Linked DNA regions of Homo sapiens: regions 1, 2, 3 and 5 are each linked to region 4. Evidence: promoter capture Hi-C in 16 types of primary human blood cells and fetal thymus (Javierre and others, 2016). All regions are on one chromosome and are shown on one strand. The core of a region is centred on a gene start or on the middle of the fragment in contact, and the rest is flanking DNA. Distances in the headings are between cores, read along the strand shown.

Region 1 (5,391 bases), core at 1,555-4,054, 1.2 Mb before region 4:
AGAACCTTAGGAGACCAAGGTGGGCAGATCACCTGAGGTTGGGAGTTCAAGACTAGCCTGACCAACATGGAGAAACCTCATCCCTACTAAAAATACAGAATTAGCCAGGCGTGGTGGTGCATGCCTGTAATCCCAGCTACTCAGGAGGCTGAGGCAGGAGAATTGCTTGAACCTAGGAGGTGGAGGTTGCAGTGAGCCAATATCGGCGCCATTACACCCCAGCCTGGGCAACAAGAGCAAAACTCCATCTCAAAAAAAAAAAAAAAAATGGGTTAATACTCAGTGAGAGGGAGAATTTAAGAAGCAGAAGCTAAAAAAAATAGTGAGAATTCCTTTTGGGGTTTTTGTTTGTTTGTTTGTTTTTTAGACTGAGTTTTGTTCTTGTTGCCCAGGCTGGAGTGCAATGGCACCATCTTGGCTCACTGCAACCTCTGCCTCCCAGGTTCAAGTGATTCTCCTACCTCAGCCTCCCAAGTAGCTGGGATTACAGGCATGCACCACCACGCCCGGCTAATTTTTGTATTTTTGGTAGAGATGGGTTTCACCATGTTGGCCAGGCTGGTCTCGAACTCCTGACCTCAGGTAATCTGCCCTCCTCGGCCTCTCAAAGTGCTGGGATTACAGGTGTGAGCCACCGCACCCGTCCTGAGAATTCCTTTTTAAAACATAGAGAGTTATCTCTCAAAAAAAGCTTAGATAGATGAGAAGGTGGAGAAGCATGCTGAGGTTTAAGGGAGTTGGGTGAATGAGGCATATAAGAGAAATTGAAAATGGTAAAATAAGAGGAAAAAAGAGTTTTAGGAAATTTACTATACAGTGTCTGTGTTCTCCTTTGAGTACCTCTTGAGAATCTGAGGTAGGGATTTAAATTGCTTTCAATTTTTTCTTCCACTGGACTTGTATCTCTTATTTATCTCTCTTTAATAAAAATAGAGATGGGATCTCACCATCTTGACCGAGCTGGTCTCAAACTCCTGGGATCAGTGGATCCTTCTGTCTCAGCCTCCAAAAGTGCTGGGATTACAGGTGTGAGTCACCATGCCCAGTCCTTTTTCAATTAAAATTTTAAAAAATAACTTGTATTGTGGATATTTAAGATATACAATATGAAGTTGATATCATATAGACCAGGGGTCCCCAGTCCCCAGCAACCAGTCCTCGGCCTGTTCGGAACCCCCATGACCTTCCTGAGCTCTGCCTCCTGTCAGATCAACCGCGCATTAGATTCTCATAGGAGCTCGAACCCTACTGTGAACTGCCCATAGGAGGGATCTAAATTGTGTACTCCCTATGAGAATCTTATGCCTGATGATCTGAGGTGGAACAGTTTCATGCCAAAACCATAGCCCCCATCCCCTTGCCAAGTCCATACCACCCACTCCCCTGCCAAGTCCGTGGAAAAATTGTCTTCCATGAAACCGGTCCCTAGTGCCAAAAAGGTTGGGGACAGCTGAAACAGGCAGTCACAAGGTTACTATAGTGAAGCATATTAACATATCCATCATCTCATATAGTTACCACCAACCCTTTTTGTGTCTCTGTGGCAAGAGTGGCTAAAATCTACTCATTTGGCATGAATCCCATATGCAGTGCAGTTTTATTCCTAATGGACTTGTGTGATTATGTGTAGGACCAAATCACAGGGCAGCTAGGCCTTATTAAGTGTTGCATTGGCTGGGTGCGGTGGCTCATGCCTGTAGTTCCAGCACTTTGGGAGGCCAAGGCAGGAGGATCACTGGAGCCCAGGAGCTCGAGCTTGCAGTGAGCTCTGATCGCGCCACTGCATTCCGGCAACAGAGCCAGACCCTATCTAAAATAAATAAATAAAAATAAAGAGTTGCGTATGACTGCTACCAGAGGCAGTATGGTATAATGGTTGGATATGACTGCTATCAGAGGCAGTATGGTATATGATATAAGGGCTTGGGGGTTCTGGAATCAGAAGCCCTGTGTTGGAATCCTGGCCCCAGTCTTTTTTTTCAACACCTCTCCTTTGTGTCCATCAGAAAATTACCTTACTGCACTGTGCCTCATTTCCCCGTCCATGAAAGGGAGATAACAGGAGCCACCACACTGGATTGCTGGATGGATTACATGAGTTAATACACATGAGGCACTTAGGGCATGCCAGGCTGTGGACAGCCCTCACTTGTTAGCTAGCAATGAAACAGAAACCTAGAAAACCATCTCTCCTCTGCTTAAGCCAAACAAACCAAAAATACCTCTTGTGGCTCACGGTTCCCAAGCTTCCTGGCATGGCTCCGCACAAAGCTGCCTTCGGTTCGCCCGGCAGGCTTTGTAGCGACCTTCCCTGCCCGGGTCCCAGTCACGGTCGGGAGCAGCCGCCGTGGCCCGGGCTCGCGAGGCAGGCTCCCGCCCGCACCCTCCCGTGCGAGGTCCCCGCCCTGCGCTCCCAGCTCTTCGAACCTCTACCCGAGCTTCTCTCACGTTGCTTGTGAGACTGCCTCGCCCACACATCCTAGATGCTCAATTAAAGTGGACGTAAAGGAAGATGCTGTGGCTTCTTCCCAAAATACCGAACGGGAGGCTCTGGGTGGGGATGGGAGACGTGGTCAGTGGGAAGCGTCCTTCCACCCTAAGGTGCGTTGCTCCGGGTGGCCGCTGGCCAAGTCGCCTGGGGTGGGGGCGGGGCTCCCCTGTCAGGACCCCCCTTCCCCAGCGTCTCTCCACTGCCCGCGGGCCTCCAGCCTGGCCGCCGGCGCCCGCGGCCACGTGACCCCAGCACAGCTGGAGGCGGGTCCCCGCCCTCCCCAGGGAGCAGCCGGTTGAGGCGGGAGCGGTGCATTGTGGGCAGAGGGGCGGGGGTTGGGAAGATGGCGGCTCCCAGCCTCCTCAACTGGAGGCGAGTTTCTTCCTTCACGGGGCCGGTCCCCCGCGCCCGGCACGGACACCGAGCGGTGGCCATCCGGGAGCTGATGATCATCTTTGGAGGGGGAAATGAGGGCATCGCGGATGAGCTGCACGTCTACAACACGGGTAGGCGCGGCGGCGGCTCGTCGGCCCCGCCTGCTGGAGCTGCGGAGGGGGAGGGGAGGCGAGGCGGCGGCCGCGGCCCTGACAGCTGTCACCGCCCGGTCACTGCTTCCTTGGGCGGGCGGCGGGGAGCGCGGCTCAGCCGGGCAGCCCGGGTCCGGCAGCTCTGTCCCGGACCGCAGCTCAGGATCTCCGGGGCCCTTGGGGCGCAACGGACCCCGAGCGGGGCGCACCGGCCTTCAGGCGGGGGATCCCGGACGCCCCCACCCCAGCCCGACAGGCGGACGCAGGCGACAGAAGACCATGTCCAACCGCCTGGGCCACTCCCCGAAATCTCGCCTCTGTCAAAAAACAAAACCCACTCCAAACCAAAGTTCCTTAGGGCCTTTCCCGTCTTTGCCTGCCTTCCTTCCTTAGGAGGAAGACCATCTAGGGGGTGAGGAGGGAAAACGAGAGGCCTTCTGGCACTCTCGCCTCAAATACAACCCGGTGTTTGGCAGGTAACGGTCAAGAGCCCCTCCGTGAGCCGCGCTCTAAAGCGGCGGGGACGTGGTGAGGCGGCCTTGTGTCTGCATACTCGGTGTGGACGCCCTTCTGGACTGGCCCTCGGAAAGAGGACTGTCATAACTTGAGCACCACTGCAGATCACAAGTGCCCCTGGGCAGGGAGCCCCTATCTTTGAGGACCTCTGTGGAATAGAAAGGAAACTGGATTTAATTTTTTTTTCCCCTTGTAAATGCTCAGGCTGTCACAAGAAATCTGTTTGGTGTAAAGACAGTGATGGAATTTTGGGTCTACTTCATGACCGATAACTTTTCTTTGATCAAACAACTTAATCACAGGAATAATTTGAAGGTTAACAAAATAGTGGAGTCTGAGAAGTTTTATTTTTTTCACCCTCTCCTCCTCCCAGCGCCCCAGCATATGAAGGTAAAAAGTTACTGACACTTTGGTCTTAGTGTAAAATCCCTGGCTTTGGAACAAATTAGACCTGATTTGAATCTTGCTCTGCCGGTTGCCCAGGATCAGCGCTAAAGTTACCAAACCTTTTTAAGCCTCACAATTTTCAGTTGTAAAATAGAGATTTTTATACTCACCCAGCAGGGCGTTTTGTAAGAATTAAATGATACAGATCAGGGTTTTTCAACAGCAGCACTCTCGACCTTTTGGGCCAGGTAATTCTTTGTTGAGGTTGGGGGAAGCTGCCCTGTATTGCCCTGTACATTGTAAGATGTTTGGCAGCATCCCTGCCTCTACCTACTAGATGCCAGTAACAGCCCCCTCCAGTTGTGACAACTAAAAATGTCACCAGACATTACCAAATGTCTTCTGGGGGGCAGAATCATCCCCAGTTGAGACCCACTGATATTGATGATATATATTTGCTGATAGTATATGATAACCGTTGTTTGTTATAATCGGTTTTCATTTTATTTTGGCAACTAGCTACGAATCAGTGGTTTCTGCCAGCTGTTAGAGGAGATATCCCTCCAGGCTGTGCTGCCCATGGATTTGTCTGTGATGGTACCAGAATATTAGTATTTGGGGGAATGGTTGAATATGGAAGATACAGCAATGAGTTATATGAGTTACAAGTAAGTGTATTTAATATTGTTTCATTCTGAGGCTTTAATAATGATATTGTTCATAATTTTTCAAAAGATTGCAACATTACTAACATTGTTTAACACATTTTAATATTATTCAAGTAATGTATTATTCAAGTAAACTATTATTCAAGTAATATTATTCAAGTAATGTAAACTTCACATTTTATAGCTTTATAGAAAATGTTTCCACTTCACTTAAAACCCAAAGTTTCCTGGCAAGTCTTTTTCCCATACCCAGTGCAACATTTATAACATCAAGATATCTGTTACGTAGCATCAGTTGTACATGTTATATATTTAGGTTTTTGTATCTTAATGCAGTAGAAACTTTAGCCTGCAACAGGAGCGCCTGGAGAACCTGTGAAAACACAGATTGCTGGGTCCTACCCAGAGAGTTTCTGAGTCAGAGGAAGGCCATGAGCATTTGCATTTCTACCAGGTTCCCAGCTGCTGATGCTCCTGGTTTGTTTGTTTAGAGACAGAGTCTTGCTCTGTCACCCAGGCTGGACTGCAGCCGCGCAATCTCGGCTCACTGCAACCTCCGTCTCCTGGGTTCAAGCAATTCTCCTGCCTCAGCCTCCTGAGTAGCTGTGACTACAGGCACGCGCCACCATGCCCAGCTAATTTTTGTATTTTTAGTAGAGACGGGTTTTCACCATGTTGGCCAGGCTGGTCTTGAACTCCTGACCTCAGGTGATCCACCCACCTGGGCCTCCCAAAGTGCTGGGATTAGCCGACGTGAGCCACCGTGCTGTGCCGCAAATTCTTAAGTATTAAGTACTGCAGG
Region 2 (5,870 bases), core at 890-3,389, 1.0 Mb before region 4:
AAGCCTTTGGTGGCCGGGCACGGTGGCTCATGCCTGTAATCCCAGCACTTTGGGAGGCTGAGGTGGGTGGATCACAAGGTCAGGAGATTGAGAACATCCTGGCTAACATGGTGAAACCCCGTCTCTACTAAAAATACCAAAAAAAATTAGCGTGGTGGTGGACGCCTGTAGTCCCAGCTACTAGGGAGGCTGAGGCAGAAGAATAGCGTGAACCCGGGAGGCGGAGCTTGCAGTGAGCCGAGATCGTGCCACTGCACTCCAGTCTGGGCAACAGAGCGAGACTCCATCTCCAAAAAAAAAAAAAAAAAAAGCCTTTGGTTCAGTTTTATTTGTTTTCTGTGTTTAAGCAAATAAACACCCAGTGTTTTCCAAGAGCATTTTGACTCTGGGCTGCTCTCCAGAGAAGCAGGATATAAGCTTGTCCACAAACCCAAATGAAAACAAAGGGCCCACACAATTGCCACGCATCTGGTGACCAGACAAGTTCACTAAATCTCAGCTGGGGTGGAAGTTCCTTGAGACCAGGGAATTTGAGTCACCTTGTAACCCTAAACAAAGCCAGGCATAAGTTGGATGCTTACCATATGTTAGTTAATTGAAAGAAGGAAAAACAGAGCACTGCACTGATAGAGAACAGTGACTGTGCACCTGATGTGCCGCAATGTGGTTTGGTGTTAAAAAAAATCACTCTCATTCATTACTAGTAGGAGTTCAAATGGGAACCACAGTTCCAAAAAAGCAATTTTGGCAACGTGTAATGACAGCCTTAAAACTATAAACACAAAGATGTTCCCTGCAGCCTTATTCATAATTTTTAAAAATAAAAAACAAACTAAACATCTAATAATAGGCTATGTAATCGTCCAGTAGCTCTAGTGGATGGACTATTACATTATTATAATTATTCAAATTAATATTTTCCCGCTTCTTCCCTGCTTTCCTTCAAGAGGTGGGGGAGGCCACCTGGCCCAAGCTGAAGGCCAAGATACAAGAAAAAAATGCAAAGGTTCTATTTTGGCAGCGTTTACATGGGCAGGGTGTCGTGGGGAGGCTGGCGGAGGGAGTGGGAGCAGGTGACAGAGAATATAGGGTAAGTTAGAAGGCTCTCAGTGCTGGTAAAAATAAAATAGAGTAAAGTAAAGGGTGGGGGTAGAGTTGAGGGGGGCGTGATCAGATTTCTGTTCAAATAGGATGGTCTTTTTGCTGTGAACTTAAGACTGCTCTAAGGCCAGGCGCAGTGGCTGACGCCTGTAATCCCAGCACTTTGGGAGGCCGAGGCGGGCGGATCACAAGGTCAGGAGATCGAGACCATCCTGCCTAACACGGTGAAACCCCGTCTCTACTAAAAATACAAAAAATTAGCTGGGCATGGTGGCACACGCCTGTAGTCCCAGCTACTCGGGAGGCTGAGGCAGGAGAATCGCTTGAACTTGGGAGGCAGAGGTTGCAGTGGGCTGAGATCGCGCCACTGCACTCCAGCCTGGGTGACAGAGTGAGACTCCGTCTCAAAAAAAAAAAAAAAAAAAGACTGCTCTAAAAAATAAAGTGTATTAAAAAGAAACTACGATGTTCAGTGTATGCTTCATCTACGGTCAAAGAGGCAAAGACTGAAGTGACAGTGGAAGCCAGGTGGTTATCTGGGAGGCTTACAAGACTATGTGATAGTATGGAAAATACTAGTATTAAGTGAAATGCTGGATGCAAAACTATGCATAGAGGGGAAAAACTGGAAAGAAATAGTAAACACAGCAAAAGTAGTTTGTGTGAAGGATAAATTTTTTAAAATTATTTTTTGTAGAAACAGGGTTTCTCTACATTGCCCAGGATGGTCTCAAACTCCTGGGCTCAAGCGATCAATCCTCCCACCTCGGCCTCCCAAAGTGCACAGGTGTAAGCCACCGCGCCCAGCCGAAGGATAAGGATTTTGGGTGGTGCGCTCTTTTCTCCTTTCCATTTCTGCATTTTCCAATTTACCTTTAGCGACCGTTCTTTCCTGTTAAAAAAAAAAAATTCACGACCTTGAAGAAGATACACGGGCTATGACTTCGCTGTTGTCACCGAGCGCCCCGCCCACCGCGTTCTCCGACCCGCGGCCGGCAGGGGGCTCGCGGCCTCCGCCAGGCGTCCTTCGGCTCCGTCAGTTCCCACAGGGCCTTGTGCGACATGGGCTGCGCCGAGGGCAAGGCAGTGGCGGCGGCCGCCCCAACGGAGCTGCAGACGAAAGGCAAGAACGGCGATGGCCGCCGTAGGTCAGGTACGACCGAGGGCGAAGGCCTGGTCCCCAGGTCGACGGGCCGAAGCGGGCCTTCCGGCCGGGGTTGGGGATAAAGTGCCCCGGAGCCCTGGCCTTGAAGCCCCTCACTGGAGTCAGTGACTGACCGCGCGCCACGCTGGAGACCCCAGAAACGCTCCCCCAGGTCACCCCGGGAGACGGAGGCCGGCGGCCGGCCGAGGGCTGCCCCGCCCGCTGGCTGTGAGAGAGGTGGGAGGTGGAAGGAGGAGCGGGCCCGCCGCGAGGACCTGCCCGGAAACCTGTCGGAAACCGAACCGAGATCTCGGCAGCGACCCGCCTGATTTCGCTCAGGGCCCGTTAGGGCGTCCTCTTCCTACAAGCACCGTGTTTCCAATGAAAGGTTACGGGGGAAGCGACCAAACCGACAGCCGAGTCCGGGGGTGCCCCTTCACCTCTCCAGAAGCCCCCGGCCCACTCCCAGCATCCTCCTCCATCGAGAATCTTGTCCGACACGCCTTCCCGGCCCCCTTTCTCCATCCCCTTGAATTTTGGGCACATTTCTCCCACCATCATCCCGCTTTATCCTTTCACTTGTTCTTCCAGAAGAGAAAGCTCCCAGTCTCTTCTCCATTGTCCGGATAATGCCAATAATGGCTAGTGGTTACTAAGCACTGACATGAGAGGGGCCTTTGGAAGCACTAGACATGGGTAATAATCTTGGTTCATGTTTCCAGCCATACTGAGAGATTTATCATAAACCCCATTATACAGATGAAGAAACTGAGAAGCAAAGAGGTTATAAAACTTACCCAAAGCACACAACTAGTAAGTGGAAGAGCTGGGATACCAGTTGAGGCCATCTGACTCAAAAGCCCTGGTCATAGTCATATGGCCGCCTCCACCTTTTTTATAGGCTTGAGAAAGTGAGGCTCCAAAAAGTGCCTTGCCCAATGGCTAGAATTATTAAATGCTGTAGGATCTGCCTCTTTCAAAGGCTTACAGTTTAGTTACAAGGCAGCATATGGTGAAGGGCTAAAAGGAGTGGTAAAAACAGCCAAGTGGGGATGGCAGCTCCCATAGATGAGGTAGGATTTGGTAGAGGTGTCTGAAGGGAGAACATTCTTGTTAGGGGAAGCAGCCGGTGAGACCATGCTAGAGATAGGGAGGCCTGTATATCCTGCTGGAGTTAAGGACTTGGATTAGGGGAAGGGAAGAATAAAGGAACAGGGTAGGAGCAAGGTCAGGCAAGGTCCAGGTCAGGCAGCTAATTTGTGGCCATTAGTACAATGAAGGAGTTTGAGCAGGTGCATCCCAAATTGACGTTTCATGTGCCATCCTCAGGATCTTCTTGATATCTATGTCCTTCCATTTATTTACTGTTTTTCTTTAGCTACATTCTTTTTGTGTGTGGTTAAAAAAAAAAAATTTACCATCTTAACAATTTTGTTTTTTTTTTTTTTTTAGTTTCGCTCTCGTTGCCCAGGCTGGGGTGCAATGGCGCCATCTTGGCTCACCTCAGCCTCCACCTCCCAGGTTGAAGCGATTCTCCTGCCTCAGCCTCCCAAGTAGCTGGGATTACAGGCATGCACCACCACGCCTGGCTAATTTTGTATTTTTAATAGAGACAGGTTTTCACCATGTTGGTCAGGCTGGTCTTGAACTCCTGACCTCAGGTGATCTGCCCACCTCAGCTCCCCAAAGTGCTGGGATTACAGGCATGAGCCACTGCACCCAGCTGACCCTAACCGTTTTTAAGTATACAGTTTTCAGCAGTATTAAGTATATTCACATTGTTGTGAAGCAGATCCCCTGAACTTTTTCATCTTGCAAATCTGAAACTCCATGCCAACTCGTTAACTTTTCATTTGCCGTTTCCCCCAGCCCCTGGTATCCATCATTCTACTTTCTGTTTCTGTGAAATTTGGCTACTTTAGATTGCTTATATAAGTTGGTATCATACAGTGTCTGTCTTTTTGTGACTGGCTTGTTTCACTTAGCATACTTGTCTTCGAGTTTCATCTGTATTGTAGCATGCGACAGGATTTCCTTACTTTTTAAGGCTGAATAATATTCCATTGTGTGTGTGTATATGTACATACACACACACATATATACACACACACACACACAAAATGGAATATATATACACACACACACCACATTTTTTTTTTCCCGAGATGGAGTCTTGCTCTATCGCCAGGCTGGAGTGCCGTGGCATGATCTTGGCTCACCACAATCTCCGCCTCCTGGGTTCAAGCAATTCTCCTCCCTCAGTCTCCCAAATAGCTGGGATTACAGGCCCGCCACCATGCCCAGCTAATCTTTGTATTTTTAGTAGTGACGGGGTTTCACCATGTTGGCCAGGCTGGTCTTGAACTCTTGACCTCGTGATCTTCCCGCCTCAGCCTCCCAAAGTGCTGGGATTACAGGCTTGAGCCACCACGCCCGGCCTGAACTATTTTATAATACAGAAAAGCTCACTCGTTATAATACAACTTGCTAAATTTTTACAAACGAAGTATATGCATGCAGCCCACACTCAGCTGAGGAAATAAACGTTTCCAGTACCCCAGGAGCCCCTCTAATGTCTCTTACCCCCATACCAAGGGCAAACACTACTCTGATTTCTAACAGCATAGAAGAATTTCACCTATTTACATTTACTTTTTGAAACTTAAATTTAGGCATATTTTAAGCATTAATCTATTAAAGCACGGCTTTATACTAGGTATTTTTCTTTTTCTTTTCTTTCTTTTTTTTTTTGAAATAGGGTCTTGCTCTGTTGCCCAGGCTGGAGTGCAGTGGCCCAATCATAGCTCATTGCAGCCTCAACCGCCTGGTCTTAAACAATCCTCCCACCTCAGCCTCCTGTGTGGTAAAGTGTGCCACCAAGCCCAGCTAATTTTTTTACATTTTGTAGAGATGAGGTCTTGCCATGTTGCCCAGGCTGGTCTCAAACTTCTGGGCTCAAGTGATCTTCCCACCTTGGCCTCCCAGAGTGCTGGGATTACAGGTGTGAGCCACTGTACCCAGCCTAGATATTTTTCTATACACATACATATATACATAATGATGATTATTATTTTTCTAGAGATGGGTCTCACTCTGTTGCCTAGATTAGAGTGCAGTGGCATGAATCATAGCTCACTGAAACTGAACTGCTGGGCTCAAGTAATCCTCCTGCCTCAGCTTCCTGAGTAGCTAGGATTACAGGGACACACCACCATGCCTAGCCTCAATTTTAAATTTTTTGTAGAGATAGGTCTCACTAAGCAACAGCCCCATCTGATCTCGAACACCTGGCCTCAAGTGATCCTCCTGCCTCAGCCTCCCAAAGTATACTGCACCAGGCCCATATTATACATAACTATTGACATTAAAAATGTTCTTTTGTGTGTCACCTACAAACACTCTAGAAGCCACCTTCCTTAAGTACCATATGATCTCTAAGTTCCTTCTCAAATTAAAATTATGTGGTTAAGTTTCAAGAAACTAATTTCTTAATGATGCAGAAGGTTTTGCTTGAATGACTCTTCAACCGAGCATCTATTATTTATCAGGCACTGGGAACTCAGGGATAAACAAGGCATGATCTCAGTCCTTGAACATAGAGTCTCGTGGAGAAGAATGGCGTAGA
Region 3 (5,816 bases), core at 1,569-4,068, 1.1 Mb after region 4:
CTCTTGTGCTTTGGGGCCATTATTAAGTAAAATAAAGGTTACTTGAACGCAAGTACTGCAATACTGCCACAGTCAATCTAATGGGTTACTGAGTGACTCACATGTAGTGTACACAGCATGGATATGCTAGACAAAGGGATGATTCATGTTTTGGTCGGGTTGGAGCAAGATGGGGCGAGATTTCATCATGCTCCGCAGAATGGCACACAATTTAAAACTTATGAATTGTTTATTTCTGGAATTTTCCATTTAATAGTTTCAGACTGCAGTAGACAGCAAGTAACTGAAAACTTGTAAAGCGAAACCACAGATAAGGGGGAACCACTGTAGTTTTAAAGCATGTCTGCAAATTCTTTGACACTTCCTACAAAAGGTAAAGTCTAATGCCCCTCCCTTCGAATATGAGCCGACTCTAATGACAGGCTTCTAATTAAGAGAATGTAGTGGAAATGACACTTCACAACTTCTGAAGCCAGGCTAGAAAAGGTGATACAACTTCTACCTGGCATGCTCTCATAACATGTGCTTTGGGAACCCATGTGTGAGAATTCCAGCTACCCTGAAGCTACTGGGCTGCAGAGACTACGTGGAAAGGCCACATAGCGAGATGGAGAGATGCCTCAGAGGCCCAGCTACTGGAGTCTTCCCAGCATCAACCACCACCACAAGTGTGGAGATTTTCCAGTGACTCTTACCCTCCACTTTCAAGTCTTCTAGGTCAGGTCCCAGACATTGTGGAGCAGAGATAAGCCTTCCCTGCTGAATCCTGTTCAAATTCCTGATACACAAGAATCTGTGAGCATAATGAAAGGTTGTTTTGTGCCACTAAGTTTAGGGACTAATTTGTTGCACAATCATTATAACTAGAGAAAGCTTGCTAGAAGATAAGGCAGAAAGAATTGGTTGCTTCCCAATCAATGAAGGCCTTGAAGTTTGAGTTTTACTTGGGAGTAATGGGGAGCCACTGATGGTTTTTGAGTAGGTATGTGACATGACACATGATGAGAGGAGGAAGAGAGCAAGATATGGAGTCCATGATTCAGGGAAGTGGTATGGAAGCAGAAACATCGGTCTCTGTGGCTTTCTCTCATCTCCTTGAGAAATCCTGAGAAATATGAAAACAGAAGCATGGTGGGCAGGAATATCTAAGATATACCAATGTATAAAACCACTGCTTCAGGACCTGAATATTACACCAAAAGCTAGTTTTCTCTTTTCTTCCTCTCTCTCTCTCCCTTTTTTTTTTTTTTTAGATTGAGTCTTGCTCTGTTGCGCAGGCCGAAGGGCAGTGGCACGATCTTGGCTCACTGCAGCCTCCACCTCCCGGGTTCAAGTGATTCTCCTACCTCAACTTCCCAAGTATCTGGGGTTGCAGGCAGCAGCCACCATGCCCAGCTAATTTTTTTGTAGTTTTAATGGAGACAGGGTTTCACTATGTTGGCCAGGCTGGTCTCAAACTCCTGACCTCAAGTGATCTGCTTGACTTGGCCTCCCGAAGTGTTGGCATTACAGGCGTGAGACACCGCACCTGGCCTTTTTTTCCCCTCGTTTTCAATGGGATTAAGAAAAAACTAGATTGGCGAGACTTATACAAAGAGAAATCAACTAAATAATGCGAAATGTATCATCCCTCTTGCTCTTTAAGTCTGGCTTTTCCCCGCTAGGTACACACTGCCATTTCTCACCTCTTTGAGTTTTGTCATTCTGTCCCCTTACCTAGAACACTCTGACTCCCTTTCTTCTTCTAGCTAACTCACCCCTCAAGACTCAGCTTTGGGGTAGCTCATTTGTTTATTTATTTACAAAATATTTATGAAGAACCAAATTTTGTACCAGACACCACATCAGGCACTAGAAAGACAGCCATGAAGAAGATTACCTATCTGCGCAGAGTCCAGTGGGAGGAAGAGATGTAACCAGATATATAAATGAAACAGTGATGGTATCAATTTTATTGGTACAATTTTGTCCAGGGCACCCAGGTGCGGTGGCTCACCTTTGTAATCCCAGCACTTTTAAAGGCTTGGGGCAGGAGAATCACTTGAGCTCAGCAGTTCGAGACCAGCCTGGGCAACAAAGCAAGAACCTGTCTCTACAAAAATAAAATAAAATAAAATAAATTAGCTGGACACAGTGGCATGTACCTGTAGTCCCAGCTACTCAAGAGTCCAAGGCAGGAGGATATTTTGAGCCCAAGAGTTCAAGATTGCAGTGAGCTATGATCGTGCCACTGCACTCCAGCCTGGGTGACAGAGCAAGACCCTGTCACACACAAAAAATGAATCTGGAGTCCCAAGAAAGTGAGTGAAGATCCATCCATCACTTCCCTCCTATTTCACTGGCCAGAATCCAGTAAATCCGGTAGTAAGTCAATATCTAACCATAAGGGAGGCTGTGTGACCAGCAGGTAAAGGAAGTAGATAAGTCACTCTCTGGCACATAGTCTACATATGTTCATTTCATTTTACTTTCACAGGATTCCCAATTAGTTAGGCCTGATCATTCTCATTTTATGGACAAGATAATTCAGACTTTGAAAGGTTAAGCAGCTTGCCTAAAATCCTTCAGCATTTAGATAGTAGTGCTGCAATTCAAACAGAAGGTTGATTTTTTTTTTAATAAATCTACCCTCTTTCCACTGCCTGTATGCTATTTTTCCCAACCCTGCTACTATTCCCCAAAAGAAATGTTTATGTTGTTATGTGTCTTTGTAAATAATTATACAGTCATGCATCTCATAACTGTTTCAGTCAATAGTGGACAGTATATTTGATGGTGGTCCCATAAGATTACAGTGTAGCTGCCCTAGATACATGTACCATAATTTATCTTTTACACCATATTTTTTCTACTTTTTGTATGTTTAGATATGTTTAGACACACAAATACTTGCCATAGTGTTACTACAATTTCCTGCAATATTCAGTATGGTAACGTGCTGTACAGGTTTGTAGCCTAGAAGCAATAGATTAGACCATATTGCCTAGGTGTGTAGTAGGCTATGCCACCTGGGTTTGCGTAAGCACACTCTGTGATGTTTGCACAAGGACCTAATGATGCCTTTCTCAGAGTGTATCCTGATCATTAAGCAACCATGACTGTAATTGTTTGAAACACTGCTTAATCACCGTACTTTGCAGAATTCTGGGTAGTCCTAAATGATTCTTCATCTTTCTTGGTTTGCCTGGAGTTTGTTTCAGCTTATCGTGTCTCCAGAAAAACTATGTAGATTTTCCTCAAGAATCTCTGCGGTCATATAGCTTTTGATTTTCTTTAAAGGGACAGAGATCCCTTTGCAATTTAAGCAGAGAGAAGGGAATATATTTTCTTCTTAATTTTCACCATTAGCTCTCTGACCCCTCTGACTACCTTGTCTATTTCCTAATTTTCAGGCAAAGCAGAAAGAAAGAAAAAAGGAAAAAGGAAGTTATAGTCAAAGTTCGTCAGAGTTAACTTCCCTCCTAATCAGTGATTGTCCCTGCCAACTAACTTCCCGCACTCCCAGCCAGTATTTAGAAGTGTGTCTGTAACGTCCTCTTACCAATCAGTATATACAGCACTGAGAAACTACTATGTCACAGGCACCGTGCAAAATAACATAGATTAATTTAAAGATGGATATAGGCCCAGCACCGTGGCTCACACCTGTAATCCCAGCACTTTGGGAGGCCAAGGTGGGAGGATCACCTGAGGTCGGGAGTTCGAGACCAGCCTGGCCAATATAGTGAAACCCCATCTGTACTAAAAATACAAAAAATTAGCCAGGTGTGGTTGTGGGCACCTGTAATCGCAGCTACTCTGGAGGCTGAGGCAGGAGAATTGCTTGAACCCGGGAAGTGGAGGTTGCAGTGAGCCGAGATCGTGCCACTGCACTCTAGCCTGGGCACAACAGAGCAAGACTCCGTCTCAAATTAAAAAAATAAATAAATAAAAAATAAAGAAACAAAGATGGATATAAAGAGTTATTGTCTGAAAAAGGTTTTGGGGCAAACACGAGCAAGCATTGCTCACTGCAGGCTCCAATGCACAGGCAGAAGTATCTCCTATTCTCGTCACCCATGACCAAGAGGTGTATTTGGGTTAGGGCATAGCTGCATGTGCCTCAGATCTGTACTCCAGAAGAGGAACTCCCATACCTGTATTTTCCCCTTTTATGGAGCAAGTATGAGAACGACTTTGCCCAAAAGAGACATCGTGGTCTCAGCCATCAGGTAGTCTGAGAATAAGAGGCAGCTATTGAGGGGAGTGTTGGTAAACACTACCTGCCCAGCATCTGGAGACTTTAGGTGCTCAGGAGAAGTTTAATTTTTGCACAACCCCTCCTGCTAAAAGGAAAAAAAAAAAACCCTGAAACCCTTGTTAGTCCAAAGTCAGGCAATTAATTTGAGCCTCTGAGTTCAGCCTTCAGACAGTTAAATTGCTTGTATTCATGAGTAGAAGACATTCCTTGTGCCCAAGGAACAGTCTGAAGTGAGTGACTTTCATGTCCTCCAATAATTACAGGATATGTGTGATACATGCTGTACATTTAAAAGATTTCCTGAAGTCTGCTTTTTTGCATCTAGTCATGCATAGCAGATTTCATGGGTGAAAACAATGCTTGGGGCCCTACTTTTCTTCATGGAGATGGCAAAAATGCTTAAAGAGCTAGGTGAACCATGTAAATGAATGAAGTAGGCTACATATAAGAGGGGTGGGCTTGTGGCATTCAAATTCAAAGTCCACCTGTGGGCTGAAAGCCACTCATTGCAATGCCCTCTACATCAAGCTTATGGTTCAGCTTTGGACTCCTGAAGAAATGGCGCAGAACCATCTATGTAGATTTAGAAAGTGAATTGAGTTCCTCACCTCATTTGGCAAGAATGGTGAATTTCCCACAGTTCGCAGGTACCTGTGGTTCCAAAGTGAGCTGCCGTTTTTGAAAATTATAAAAGCAACACTGAAGCAGTTTAAACCAATCCAGATTTTTAGCTAAGTAGTTCCAATTTTCTTCCTTATCAGTTAAGCTCATATCAGCCTTATTTTTCAACAATGAATTTGACCTAAATACTGATTTAGGGGCCTGAATCTGTTTTGTTGAGATCACTTGAGAACTTCTTGTACATGTATCTGCTTGGCTACTCCTTTCTCTAGGAAGCCTACCTGGGGGTCGTCAGTTCTGGATTACATGCTCCTTCTATGTGGCCCCTTGGATTGACTTCTATTTGTCAAGGTATAATTTTCAACAAATTGAAAACATGACTTATATGAAACAGAACAAACACGGGCTTAAAAAAATATTTATTTCATCAATTAAAGAGTTAGCCAGTAAAATGGTAAAGTTGGTTTAAGGAATATTTGAGAAATAGGGGTTTATATATCCCATCAAGAAATGCATTTTTAAAAATCTTACAATAAGATTACTAGGTTAGACACAAAATTGGTTAATGTCTTATAAGGTAATAAATAGTAAGCTTTTATCTTTTCTATAGAACAGAAAAGATTTTACTTGTATTAGAAATGGACAAGAATAATTTGCATTGTTATCAATTTTTTGGTGTTTTGTTTTGGGTTTTGGTTTTCGGTTTTTTGACATAGGGTCTCTGTCACCCAGGCTAAACTGAGGTGCCATGATGATAGCTCACTGTAGCCTCGAACTCCTGGGCTCAAGGGACTCTCCCACTTTAGCTTCCTGATTAGCTGGGACTACAGCCACATGCCACCCTGCCCAGCTAAGTTTTGTATTTTTTTTGTAGATACAGGATCTCTCTATGTCGCCCAGGCTGGTCGCCAACTCCTAGCCTCAAGCAACCTGTCCATCTTGGCCTCCCAAAGTG
Region 4 (5,274 bases), core at 1,194-3,693:
AGTCCTGGCTCTGTCACTTTATGGTGTATAATTCTAAGCAAATTACTTCTCTGCTCCTTAGTTATTTAAATAGAGAATGTACTTCAAGACTATTGGGAGGATTGAGTGAGTTAATATATGTAAAGCATTTAGAAGAGTCCCTGGCACATAAAATCCATGAAACAGGCATTTGCTATTGTTTTTATGCTTTGCACATAAAATGAAGGGGATGGATTAGATTCCTTCCAGTTCCAAGTCTAGGAGTCACCTTGGGAGTAAAGCTACATTAGGCACAGGTCACATACAAGAGAGTAGTATATAAATATGCTCTGATGATCATTAAAGACCTTCTTAAAGTCAGCTTCCATTCTGCACAACAGCACCATCAAGAGCCCTCTTAAGGGTGATGGCCAAGTCTCAAAAGCAATGACAAATAAACTTCCTATATTAAAAGGAACATATTAAATAAGAATGATAATATCTCTAAACCTCCTCTGCCACATACAAGTTCAAAGTTATACACCATGTAGATATGACAATGTTAACTCTAAAGCACCTTGAAGATCACCTGCTCCCTCCCTGTCTCTCATTCTGTAGATGTTCTGTAGATTAGGAAACTGAGCCAGCTACAGGGTGGAGATGAAGAGACTCACCCACATCACATCCTAAGTGAGCGTGAGAGCCAGAATTAGAACCCAGGTCTCCTGACTTGCTCTACAGTCCTGTCTACTTCCTCACAGCTGGGCAAATCCTTTAAGCCACTCACAAACAGTGTATATTCCTTTATGTTAGAGCTGGAAATTAAGAATATGATCTGTTTGTGAGGACAACATCAAGAATCAGTTAGTATAATCACTGTAACCTGGCTTAGGCATCACCATGTAGGTTAGAAAAGCAGGATATTTCTGTGCACCTCAGTTTCCATAAGTGCAAGGCAAACAGAGATCCTTGTTCAAAGTGATCATTTAAAATCTCACATTGCTATCTTCAGATTCCACACAACAGATATGAACATGGACAAAATGCCTTCTACCAAGGGCTTTAGTCTGATTAAAATGCCAGGAGTCTACAGCCATATAAAAAAGGGAGGCCTTGAAAAAGTCGTCCAGAGGATGCAAACTTACCAAAAAACAAAACAAACAAACAAAAAACACACACACAGCTTGCTTCCAGTTCCTTACTTATCTACACTAGGAGGATCACAAAAAATGAACAAAAGACACCTATGCATACAGCCCTTCGGACTTATTCTGAACTGTCGATGTAGGTAAATCCATACAAGGATCATCCTGGGAAGTATTATTCACTTAGAAGAAAAAGGGAAGGAACCCCAAAAGAGAGGGGAAAGTGTGAAACGAAAATAGGTTAATCTTATTCTAAGTTTTCAAGAGTTGAGACACTAGGAAATAAAGGCACTTATTTAAATAAACCCGGGATGCTGAACCAGGAGTGTAGGTACGAAGCTGGAGAAATGTTAAACAAAGGAGAACAAAAGACCCCTGGGGAAAGATGTGCTGAATTATGAACTAATGTCATCCTGCACTCATTTGCTATATTTACACACCAGTTTTCATCTGCAGAGCTCAAAGGACTTGACTCTCATCTCGAGTGTGCTAATGAAGTTCCCTTGTGCGACAAATGGGGCAGGTACTGTATTTTTCTCTTCACTAATGGGAAAACGGTGCCAAAAGGAGGCCTGGTACCGCCGGAAAAGAGATCCAGGCCCTCTGCCTCTCATTCTGGCTGGCACAAGTCTCATCACATCATTAGGAGTAGCAGTAATAAGACTGACTCATTATCTGTACCGGACATTGTCTGCTGACAACTTTACAGGTATTTCTCATTGACTTCTCCTAACAACCCTATGAAGCAGGCACAATTATTATTCCTATTTTACAGACGACAAAACTAAGGCACAATAAGGTGGTTTTCCTGAGGCACTCAGCTACTACATGGAATCAAAGTTTAGATCTCGCAGACTCAGTTGCAGCTGAGCTTGCAGGGGGGTCACGACATCAAGACTCCGGCCGCGGGGCTCTCTCCCCTGTTCCACAGCTCTGCCCCGGCTCAGGACTCAGGGCCCGGCCCGCCCCCTCCTCAGCCCGAGAGAACCCGGTGGGAGGCGCCGCGAGGGGGCCGGGCGCACTCCCGCGGCTGCCCGGCCGGGGGCGCGGCCTCCACTCCGGGGCTGGAGGGGCCTCCTCGGCCTCACCCCTGCGGGCGAGGGGCACCGGAGCGGCGGGAGGTACCTGGGGGCTGTCCTGCAACGCCTCCTCTAGCAGGAGCTTGTCCACGGCGGGCATGGTGCGGCGCGGCTCAGCCGAGGGCTGGGTTGGAAGGACAGAGGGCAGGAGACGCGGCGGCCGAGAGCACTCCCCGGCTCTGGGCTCAGGCGACGCGGCGGCCACTCCGTGCCCGCGGCGGCCCCGCGCGCGTCCACGCCTGGCCAGTGGCCGCCGCCGCCTGCCCGCCGGCCCAGCCCCCGGCCGAGCCGGATCAACAGGAAGTGTGGCGCGCCCGGCAGGGAAACCGGAAGTGTGGTGAGCTCCGGTCCCGACACCGGAAATGTGGCGCCCGCGCTTCCGCCTGCGCTCGCCGGCTCGCGGGGAGCGGGGGGCTCTGGGTGCCAGTCCCGTTGCTGAGGGAACCCTTCGGGTGTTTGTTCTCTGTGCTGAAGGTCCGTCAAGTCAATGCATATGAAGTCCAAAAGAGGAACTCGAGGGTAGAAAGATAAGGTTTTATCTGCTTATGGCTACCCAGAAAGCCTTTTGAGTTGAAGGAGCGAACAGATTTTTTCTTTTAATGGAAGGAAAAACCCACACTTCCCACACCACTTTTTCTAGATAAATTTCGACGCCCCTGAAACAGCTCTGAGAGCAAAGAGGTCGCCTATGCTATGGGAACAAAGAAAAGAGGAGAAAAGCTGGATAACTGACTCGTCTGTGATAATCAGAAATAACCACTTTGGAAACCACAGCTATTTGATGTGGTCATAATTAGGTCTCGTCCTCCTGGTTTATGTTTTGTGATTTTGGAGAATTTCATAATCAAATGTTTAGAATTGGAAGGGCTAGATAATCTAGGTTCCAGTGTTGTCATTTAGAGATGAGAAAATGGGACCCAGAGAAATAAGTGGTCTGCCCAGGGTCAGTTAGTAAACGCCAGAGGAAGAAAAGAAGGAAGGGAGAGGGATGGAAGAAGACTGGCAAGTGGAACGTGACACCTTTTTACACGGAAGGCAAGGGTTTCTGAAGTTCCTTCTTTAGAAGTTAATAAGACTGGCCGGGCGTGGTGGTTCACGCCTGTAATCCCAGCACTTTGGGAGGCCGAGATGGGTGGATCACGAGGTCAGGAGTTCAAGACCAGTCTGGCCAAGATGCTGAAACCCCGTCTCTACTAAAAATACAAAAATTAGCCGGGCGTGGTGGCATGCGCCTGTAATCCCAGCTACTCGGGAGGCTGAGGCAGAAGAATCACTTGAACCCGGGAGGCAGAGGTTTCAGTGAGCCGAGAGGGCACCACTGCACTCCAGCCTGGGCAACAGAGCAAGACTCCGTCTCAAAAAAAAAAAAAAAAATCATGCAGTATGTGTGTCACCAAAATCAACAGAGGGGATATGGTAATATATAAATTCTGCATTCTGCAGAGACCTCTTAGGTATATCAAGACCCAATCTGCATTGCTGACACCTCTGACAGTCTAGTATAGTAGCATGCTGCCTGATCACTTGAAAACTCCAAGGCCATTATTCCCTTGGTCTGGCCAGCGCCAACCTGACCTGAACCATTTTATGGCCTCCATCTACCATATTTTCCTCCACAGTATTCTTTCTTCCCTATTCTTTCTTGCCTCCACCATACTCTTGTCTTCCCTATAGGTGGAATCATGCTCACACCATATTTCTTCCCTTTCCTCTATTTTATACCGCCTGCCATTCAGTTCATTTTACCTCATCCAGTGTCCCAGACTCTCTTCTCACTGAAATCTAATTCCTCACGGCCAGACTCATGCTCTTCCTTCATCCTGATTGCGAGAACAGTACAAGGATAGTATTATACCCAGGGAAATAAATGTGCACATTTTAATTTGAAAATATGCATTACAAGAAGTTAGTGCCCTCAGAACCCTTGAAAGGGCTCAGACAGCCCCTTGGGAATCACAGCATTTTTCATGTACCACCTCATCTTCTAATTAAAGTTACTTTTCTTCAAATACTAGTATTCAACATTCAAAAATTGTTTAAGCTATCCCATTACTTTTCTGCATTTTCTTGCTACATTATGGGCTAAACAGCCTTAGTGGGATTTCTTGGAACTTAAGAACTGTTTACAACATTGTTTCTATGGGAAAATCTATCCCAAATTCAAAACAACTAAGTTACAAAAGTAGATCTGGAAATACAACACATGCATAAATGGTTTTAATTTATCTCATTTGTTAATTCATCCAATCATTCATTCATGTATTAAATATAGACTGCTCAGTGTTAAGCACTGTCTCCCACTTGTTTGATTCTCATTTAAATTCTGAAGGCAAATATCCTCTCCTTTGATAATCTGTGAGAAACTACATAAGAGGAATTTTTATGTCAACATGAACATTTAAAAATGTTTCATTAAAGAGTATATATCTGTTCCTATTAAACTATTATGCAGGTGGATTTTAGAAATCCACCCCACTGTCTCTGAAATCCCTGGTCAGCTGTGAAGTTGGTGACAGGAAGTATAAAGATGGACAGTCTGGAGTTGTCGTGATGTCTGAAGAGAGAGAGGATGAATTATATGGAGGTGTAACCTGTGACCCATTGAAGGCCAGTGGGGAAAAGGACACAGTGAGACACAAAAAAAGGACCCAGGATGGCCAGGTCAGAGAAGGCCTGGGGCTTCAGGAGTAAGAGAGAAAGGCAGGAGTGAAGAAGGCAGCTGTTTTGGGAGATGCTTAGCAAACTGCATGATAGGGCACACGCATTGAGATTCTTTCCTCTGCCAGTCAAGCCCTTTCTCCTGCCTCTTGTCTGACAAACCCAACCACAATCATCAAATCCCAGTTTAATGTGACTTTTTTGATGAAGTCTTCATTTACTCCTGTCCCCCCAAGCAGAATACATTTTCCTTTCCTTGAGTGTGCTTCAGTAGCACTTGCCGAGATAATTCTAGAATAACACTTACCTCTCTTTGTTTCCACCTCCAACCTTCCAGCTAGAATGGGTAGGAACTTGGTCTTATTTATTTCTGTAATTAGAGTGCCTAGTACATTACCTAGCACAAAAGCAGTTGCTTGATAAATACTTACTAA
Region 5 (5,400 bases), core at 2,375-4,874, 1.1 Mb after region 4:
TGCTTTTGGTATGGCGTTATGATAGAGTGGTTAAAAGCATGGGTTCTGGGGTCAAATAATTATGGATTTAAATTCCAGCTCTGCTTGGGCAAGTGTCTTAACCCCTGTGAGCCTTAGTCTCTTTACCTTTCAAGTGGGGATAATCATACTTATCCCCGGGGTTCAGCACTCAATTAGAGAATGCACATCAAGTGGTCATTGCAATGCCTAAGAGTAAACACTCGGTAAATGTTAATATTTCAAGGCCCAGCTTGGACACCTCTGCCTTTCCTTTTTCCTTGCTCTCCCTTAAACAAGATCCCCTATTCCCCCATGGCACTGGTCAATTTTTCATCTGGCTACCATAAGCCATTGTACATTAAGTGATAAGATAGTATTCCAACATGTTAACCATTTTTCCTTCTGTGATTTTTTTTTTTTTTTTTTTTTGAGACGGAGTCTTGCTCTTGTCGCCCAGGCTGGAGTGCAATGGCGTGATCTCGGCTCACTGCAACCTCTGCCTCCCAGGTTCAAGCAATTCTCCTGCTTCAGCCTCCCGAGTATTTGGGATTACAGATGTGCGCCACCACCTCGGGCTAATTTTTGTACTTTTAGTAGAGACAGGGTTTCACCATGTTGGCCAGGCTGGTCTCAAACTCCTGACCTCATGATCCACTGCTTCGGGCTCCCAAAGTGCTGGGATTACAGGCGGCGTGAGCCACCGCGCCCAGCCTTGTGATCTCTTTTCCCTAATTTCCCACCCCTCTATTCAAACCACTGGTCTTTTTGTACTAATACCTCAGGAAAAGGACATGGCAGCAGAAAACAAAGAAATGCTGAGACTGTTCCTGGCTTCTTGGTTTCAAAACTCCAGTCCCTTAGGGTATCAGAAAGAAGTTATAGATTTGATCTGGGGGAAGGACTATGAGGGACTGTGGCAGCTATGGTCTAAGGGCCAACACCGTTCAGCATTAGCCGATTGTTGCCGTATAGGACTTTGGGACCATGGCTACCAGAGCCTCCTGCTTTTGAAGAGAAACTAAAAACAATCAGGATTCTTAAAAAGTGAGTATAATATCAAACATCACCCATTCGTTGCATTTTTTCTTTCAACTCACTCATTCAACACAAATATATTCAGGAACAACTGATGGGTTAGAAGTTGGAAACACAAAGACAAACAAGATAGTTCCCGTACCAAGAGCTCAGTCTGGATAATGAGACACATAAAAAGAGGATATGGCATTGAGTGATAAGTCTTAGGTTAGTGATTTCCAAAGCATAATCACTGGAAAGCAACAGCAGGGAACTTACTAGAAACGCAAATTTGCAGGCCGGGAGTGGTGGCTCACGCCTGTAATCCCAGCACTTTGGAAGGCCGAGGCAGGCGGATCACCTGAGGTATGGAGTTCGCGACCAGCCTGGCCAACATGGTGAAACCCCGTCTCTACTAAAAATAAAAATTTAGACGGGTGTGGTGGCGCATGCCTGTAGTCCCAGCTACTAAGGCGGCTGAGGCAGGAGAATCACTTGAACCCAGGAGGCTGAGGTTGCAGTGAGCCAAGACCGAGCCACTGCACTCCAGCCTGGGTGACAGAGTGAGACTCTGTCTCAAAAAAAAAAAAAAAATGCAAATTTGCAGCCAGCGCGGTGGCTCACGCCTGAAATCCCAGCACTTTGGGAAGCCGAGGCAGGCGGATCACCTGAGGTCAGGAGTTTGAGCCCAAACTGGCCAATATGGCGAAACCCCGTCTCTACTAAAAATACAAAAATTACCTGAGTATGGTGGCACGCGCCTGTAATCCCAGCTACTCGGGAGGCTGAGGCAGGAGAATCGCTTGAACCTGGGAGGGTACAGTGAGCTAAGATTGCACTACTGCACTCCAGCCTGGACGACAGAGTAAGACTCCATCCCCGCCCCCCACCAAAAAAGCAAAATTTCAGCCCCAATTTACCAATCAGAAAGCTGAGATTAGTTTAACAAGCTCTCCAGGTGATTCTGATACACCCTAAAGTCGGAGAATCACCTTGATAATGGAAAGCAAAGAAGACTTTGGCACAGACAACCAACACACTTGAGCCAACCTTGAGATCCTCTGCCATCTATAAATCACTTTCACAGTCCCTTCTAGGCTAGATGCTAAATTGGTTGCAATCTGGTAATGCACAATGATGAGACACAAGTTGTATCTTGTCTCTGTAATAAGTAAATTGTAAGAACTTCAAAGGCAGGGTTGATTCTACTTTTGGTGTTTTTTCCATTCTTCTCGTATTTCAGATATCAGTGCAATACTTAGAAAATACGGCCGGGCGCGGTGGCTCACGCCTGTAATCCCAGCTACTCGGGAGGCTGAGGCAGGAGAATGGCGTGAACCCGGGAAGCGGAGCTTGCAGTGAGCCGAGATTGCGCCACTGCAGTCCGCAGTCCCACCTGGGCGACAGAGCGAGACTCCGTCTCAAAAAAAAAAAAAAAAAAAAAAAAAAAGAAAATACAAGTACTGAAATTTAAGTAGCTCTTTAGTAAATAAGAATAATTAACCTGGTGCAAGGGTTCTACCTTTATGAGGGAGAAATTGGAAAGCATATATGTACTTACAAATTTTCATAACTTTTCTTATCGTTGTAAAATATACATAAAACTTAGCATTTTAACCCTTTAAAATGATGTACAGGTCAGCAGCATTAAATACATTCACACTGTTGTGCAACCATCACCATTCTCCATTTACAGAACTTTTGCATCTTCCCAAACCGAAACTCCGTACCCATTAATTAATTGGTGCATTTTGCCTTGTTTTTTCTAATAGGATTTTTCTTTCTGTTGATTTGTATGAGCTCATTTTAAATTAGAGAGACCAGCCCTTTGTCTTCTGCCAATTTATTTTTTATTAATTCTATTTGTTGGTGATTTTTTAAAATCTGTTCAGAAAATTAAAAATTTTCCGTGGAATCATAAAATCGTGTTTAGATTATAAAATCCTTTATGATTTGACTGTTGCCGTCTTGAAAGTCTTCAACATCTCAATGTTATGAATATCTGCACTTACATTTTCTTCTAAGTTTTTGTTAACATTTCAATATTTAATCCACAAAAGATTCACTTACATGTATTTTTTCCCCAAATGGGTAATCAGCTCTTCAAACATTATTTACTGGACAGGCCATCCTTCCCCTACTAACGTAAATGTCATCTTTTCATATTAAATTTCTCCATGCGCTGGGTATTTACTCCTACATCTTCCATCTAGTGCTTTTGAGAATTTTCAACACTCTTCCATTACACGCATGTACCATCATTTATTTAATCAATCTTCTATTGGTAGGCATTTGGGACGTTTCCTGCTCTTCCATACTAAACAATGCATAGAATTTTGGACTACATTAAATAATTCTCTGCCTCAGTGGTTCAAGTTGCGTAAATTATGCGTTTACACTTTTCTTCGGATTACTTTTAAAATGACAACCACTATGTTTTGCTGGTCTCAATTACCAGAGAATTGGCAAGAAACCTGACAGCTGGGGCTTAGGATTCCCTGCGCCAGACCTCCGAGCTACACCAGAGGGCGTACTTTCCTTACTCGGCCTCGGCCACATCCGGGTTCCACCGCAGATTCGGGCAGGGAGCGGGCGGAACCTTTCTACCGCGTCTCTAGCTAACACGCACGGCGGGGACAGTTTAGGCCTCCGCGCACCGTTCGCCGGGAGTCTTGCAGTTTGCTTGGTGCAGGGAAGGCGGGCGCGGAGGTTCTATCTGTTTCTTCCTCCTTCGTGAGCAGCATGGACGTGCTAGCGGAGGAGTTTGGGAACCTGACTCCGGAGCAGCTGGCGGCGCCGATCCCGACTGTAGAGGTCAGTGCCAGGCACGCAGGGAGCGTCAGGGACAAGGATGCGCCCTGAGGGGGCGTTGCCCGGAGTGCTCGGGCCGCCAAGGGGGCGGGCTGGCGGTTTGTGCGCATGCGCCGGGCTTCTGCGCATGCCCAGAGCGTCGCGCTTGCGAGTCTTTTTTCCAGAGCCGGCCTCCGCGTGCGCGAGTGAAGGCTGATCCCAGAGGAGCTGTCAGCCGCTGCGGGGGCCGAGAAGCCCCGCTGCTGGCTCTAGGGTTGGAGCTCTTCCAGCATAGGTGTGCGTGGGGAGGACTGACCCTCGCACTTACTGTGGGGGACGTATTGCATGTTTGCAGTCTTACAGAGGACACGGGGCCAGGGAGCTCAGGCCATTTGCATGAGGCACCACAGCCGGCTGTGGGGGTAAAACCAGATCGTCTGAATTCCAAGCTAGTCATCTTTCCTTTTAACTTGAAGTTCCAGTTTGGGTTGCAGGGGAATTTTAAACGCCCTCAATATTTACTAAAGAATTTGCCTGTGTGTTTTCTGGGGGAGAGACTCCACAGCTTTCATCAGCTTCTCGGAAGTTAAGGACAGCTGCCCCACAGCGAGCTGCCCAGTGAAGTGCGGCTGTCGACATATTTTGTTATCTGATAAGGCACATTTTGTAATCTCTCTGAGCCTCAAAATCTACACTGACGTGGAATAGGGAAGTGGAGACGTGGCCGGAGAAGATAGCAAAGGAGAGATTTCAGGGAAAGAGAACAGGATACTTGAAACCTCCTCGGCAAGACCATTGGATGTTTTTGAGGAAGGAAAGTAAATCCAGTAGTATTAGAGTGAAGAAAAATAGAGGAGAAGAGATAAAAGACAGGGTTAAGTAAGGGTCTTGATTATGAAAAGTTTCAATAAACATCTGACAGAGCTTGGACTTTGTCTTGGAGCAGAGCTTTTGAAGGGTTTAAGCAGGAAAGTGACATGATCAGTAAGTCTATCGGATTATAAGAACCTCCTTGGCTAGGCGTGGTGGCCTGTAATACCAGTAGTTTGGGAGGCCAAGGCGGGCGGATCACTTGGGCTCAAGAGTTTGAGAACAGCTTGGGCGACATGGCAAAACCCTGTTTCTACAAATAATACAAAAATTAGCTGGGTGTGGTGGCGTGCACTTGTCCCAGCAACTCAGGAGGCTGAGGTGGAAGGATCACTTGAGCCTGGAAGGTCGAGGCTGCAGTGAGCCGTAATTGTGCTGCTGCACTCCAGCCTGGGTGACTGAGACCTTGTCTCAAGGAAAACAAAACAAAACCTCTTTATAATAGTTTGACAAGTTAAGGAAGTTGAATTAGCAGTTCCAACAGATTCAGTCTATAAGTGCATGCAATAGGCTGCTGATCATCAGGCAAAACTATTTTTTTTTTTTTTTTTTGAGACGGAGTCTAGCTCTGTCGCCCAGGCTGGAGTGCAGTGGTGTAATCTCGGCTGACTGCAACCTCTGCCTCCCGGGTTCAAGCAATTCTCCTGCCTCAGCCTCCCAAGTAGCTGGGATTACAGGCGCCCACCATCACCGCCAGCTAATTTTTGTATTTTTAGTAGAGACGGG

Evidence for each region. The method cuts DNA at HindIII sites, captures the fragments that hold promoters and counts their contacts. A CHiCAGO score of 5 or more calls a contact.
Region 1: the fragment with the promoter of HCFC2 here is called in contact with the fragment with the promoter of APPL2 in region 4 in 6 of 17 cell types (monocytes, neutrophils, total B cells and 3 more); the score reaches 10.8 in monocytes.
Region 2: a contact is called between the fragment with the promoter of TXNRD1 here and the fragment with the promoter of APPL2 in region 4, in 10 of 17 cell types (naive B cells, activated CD4 T cells, monocytes and 7 more). The highest score is 10.6, in naive B cells.
Region 3: a fragment that was not itself captured here is called in contact with the fragment with the promoter of APPL2 in region 4 in 1 of 17 cell types (M0 macrophages); the score reaches 6.5 in M0 macrophages.
Region 5: a contact is called between the fragment with the promoter of POLR3B here and the fragment with the promoter of APPL2 in region 4, in 1 of 17 cell types (neutrophils). The highest score is 6.4, in neutrophils.

What each region holds. Positions count from the first base shown.
Region 1 is chr12:104,061,727-104,067,117 of GRCh38, forward strand. HCFC2 (host cell factor C2) reads left to right here and starts at 2,805. Exons shown (of 15, transcript NM_013320.3): 1 at 2,805-2,997; 2 at 4,441-4,589. The coding sequence starts at 2,835. It also overlaps a transcript of GLT8D2 not described here. RefSeq lists an enhancer at 839-1,008, a cis regulatory region at 924 and silencers at 2,332-2,491, 2,501-2,670, 2,652-2,821, 3,042-3,181. The HindIII fragment of the contact is 6,452 bases long and covers 2,245-5,391 here.
Region 2 is chr12:104,213,640-104,219,509 of GRCh38, forward strand. It overlaps TXNRD1 (thioredoxin reductase 1), which reads left to right and starts at 2,140. Exons shown (of 17, transcript NM_001093771.3): 1 at 2,140-2,254. The coding sequence starts at 2,164. RefSeq lists enhancers at 1,916-2,532, 2,533-3,148, 5,807-5,870 and a silencer at 2,003-2,092. The HindIII fragment of the contact is 5,942 bases long and covers 416-5,870 here.
Region 3 is chr12:106,288,473-106,294,288 of GRCh38, forward strand. No RefSeq gene overlaps it. Among named protein-coding and RNA genes, the nearest start is that of TCP11L2, 11 kb to the right of the region's middle. RefSeq lists an enhancer at 1-253. The HindIII fragment of the contact is 3,895 bases long and covers 872-4,766 here.
Region 4 is chr12:105,233,731-105,239,004 of GRCh38, forward strand. It overlaps APPL2 (adaptor protein, phosphotyrosine interacting with PH domain and leucine zipper 2), which reads right to left and starts at 2,444. Exons shown (of 21, transcript NM_018171.5): 1 at 2,229-2,444. The coding sequence starts at 2,282. RefSeq lists silencers at 2,023-2,272, 2,323-2,462 and an enhancer at 2,327-2,827. The HindIII fragment of the contact is 6,549 bases long and covers 1-5,274 here.
Region 5 is chr12:106,354,124-106,359,523 of GRCh38, forward strand. POLR3B (RNA polymerase III subunit B) reads left to right here and starts at 3,625. Exons shown (of 28, transcript NM_018082.6): 1 at 3,625-3,828. The coding sequence starts at 3,757. The HindIII fragment of the contact is 8,226 bases long and covers 1-5,400 here.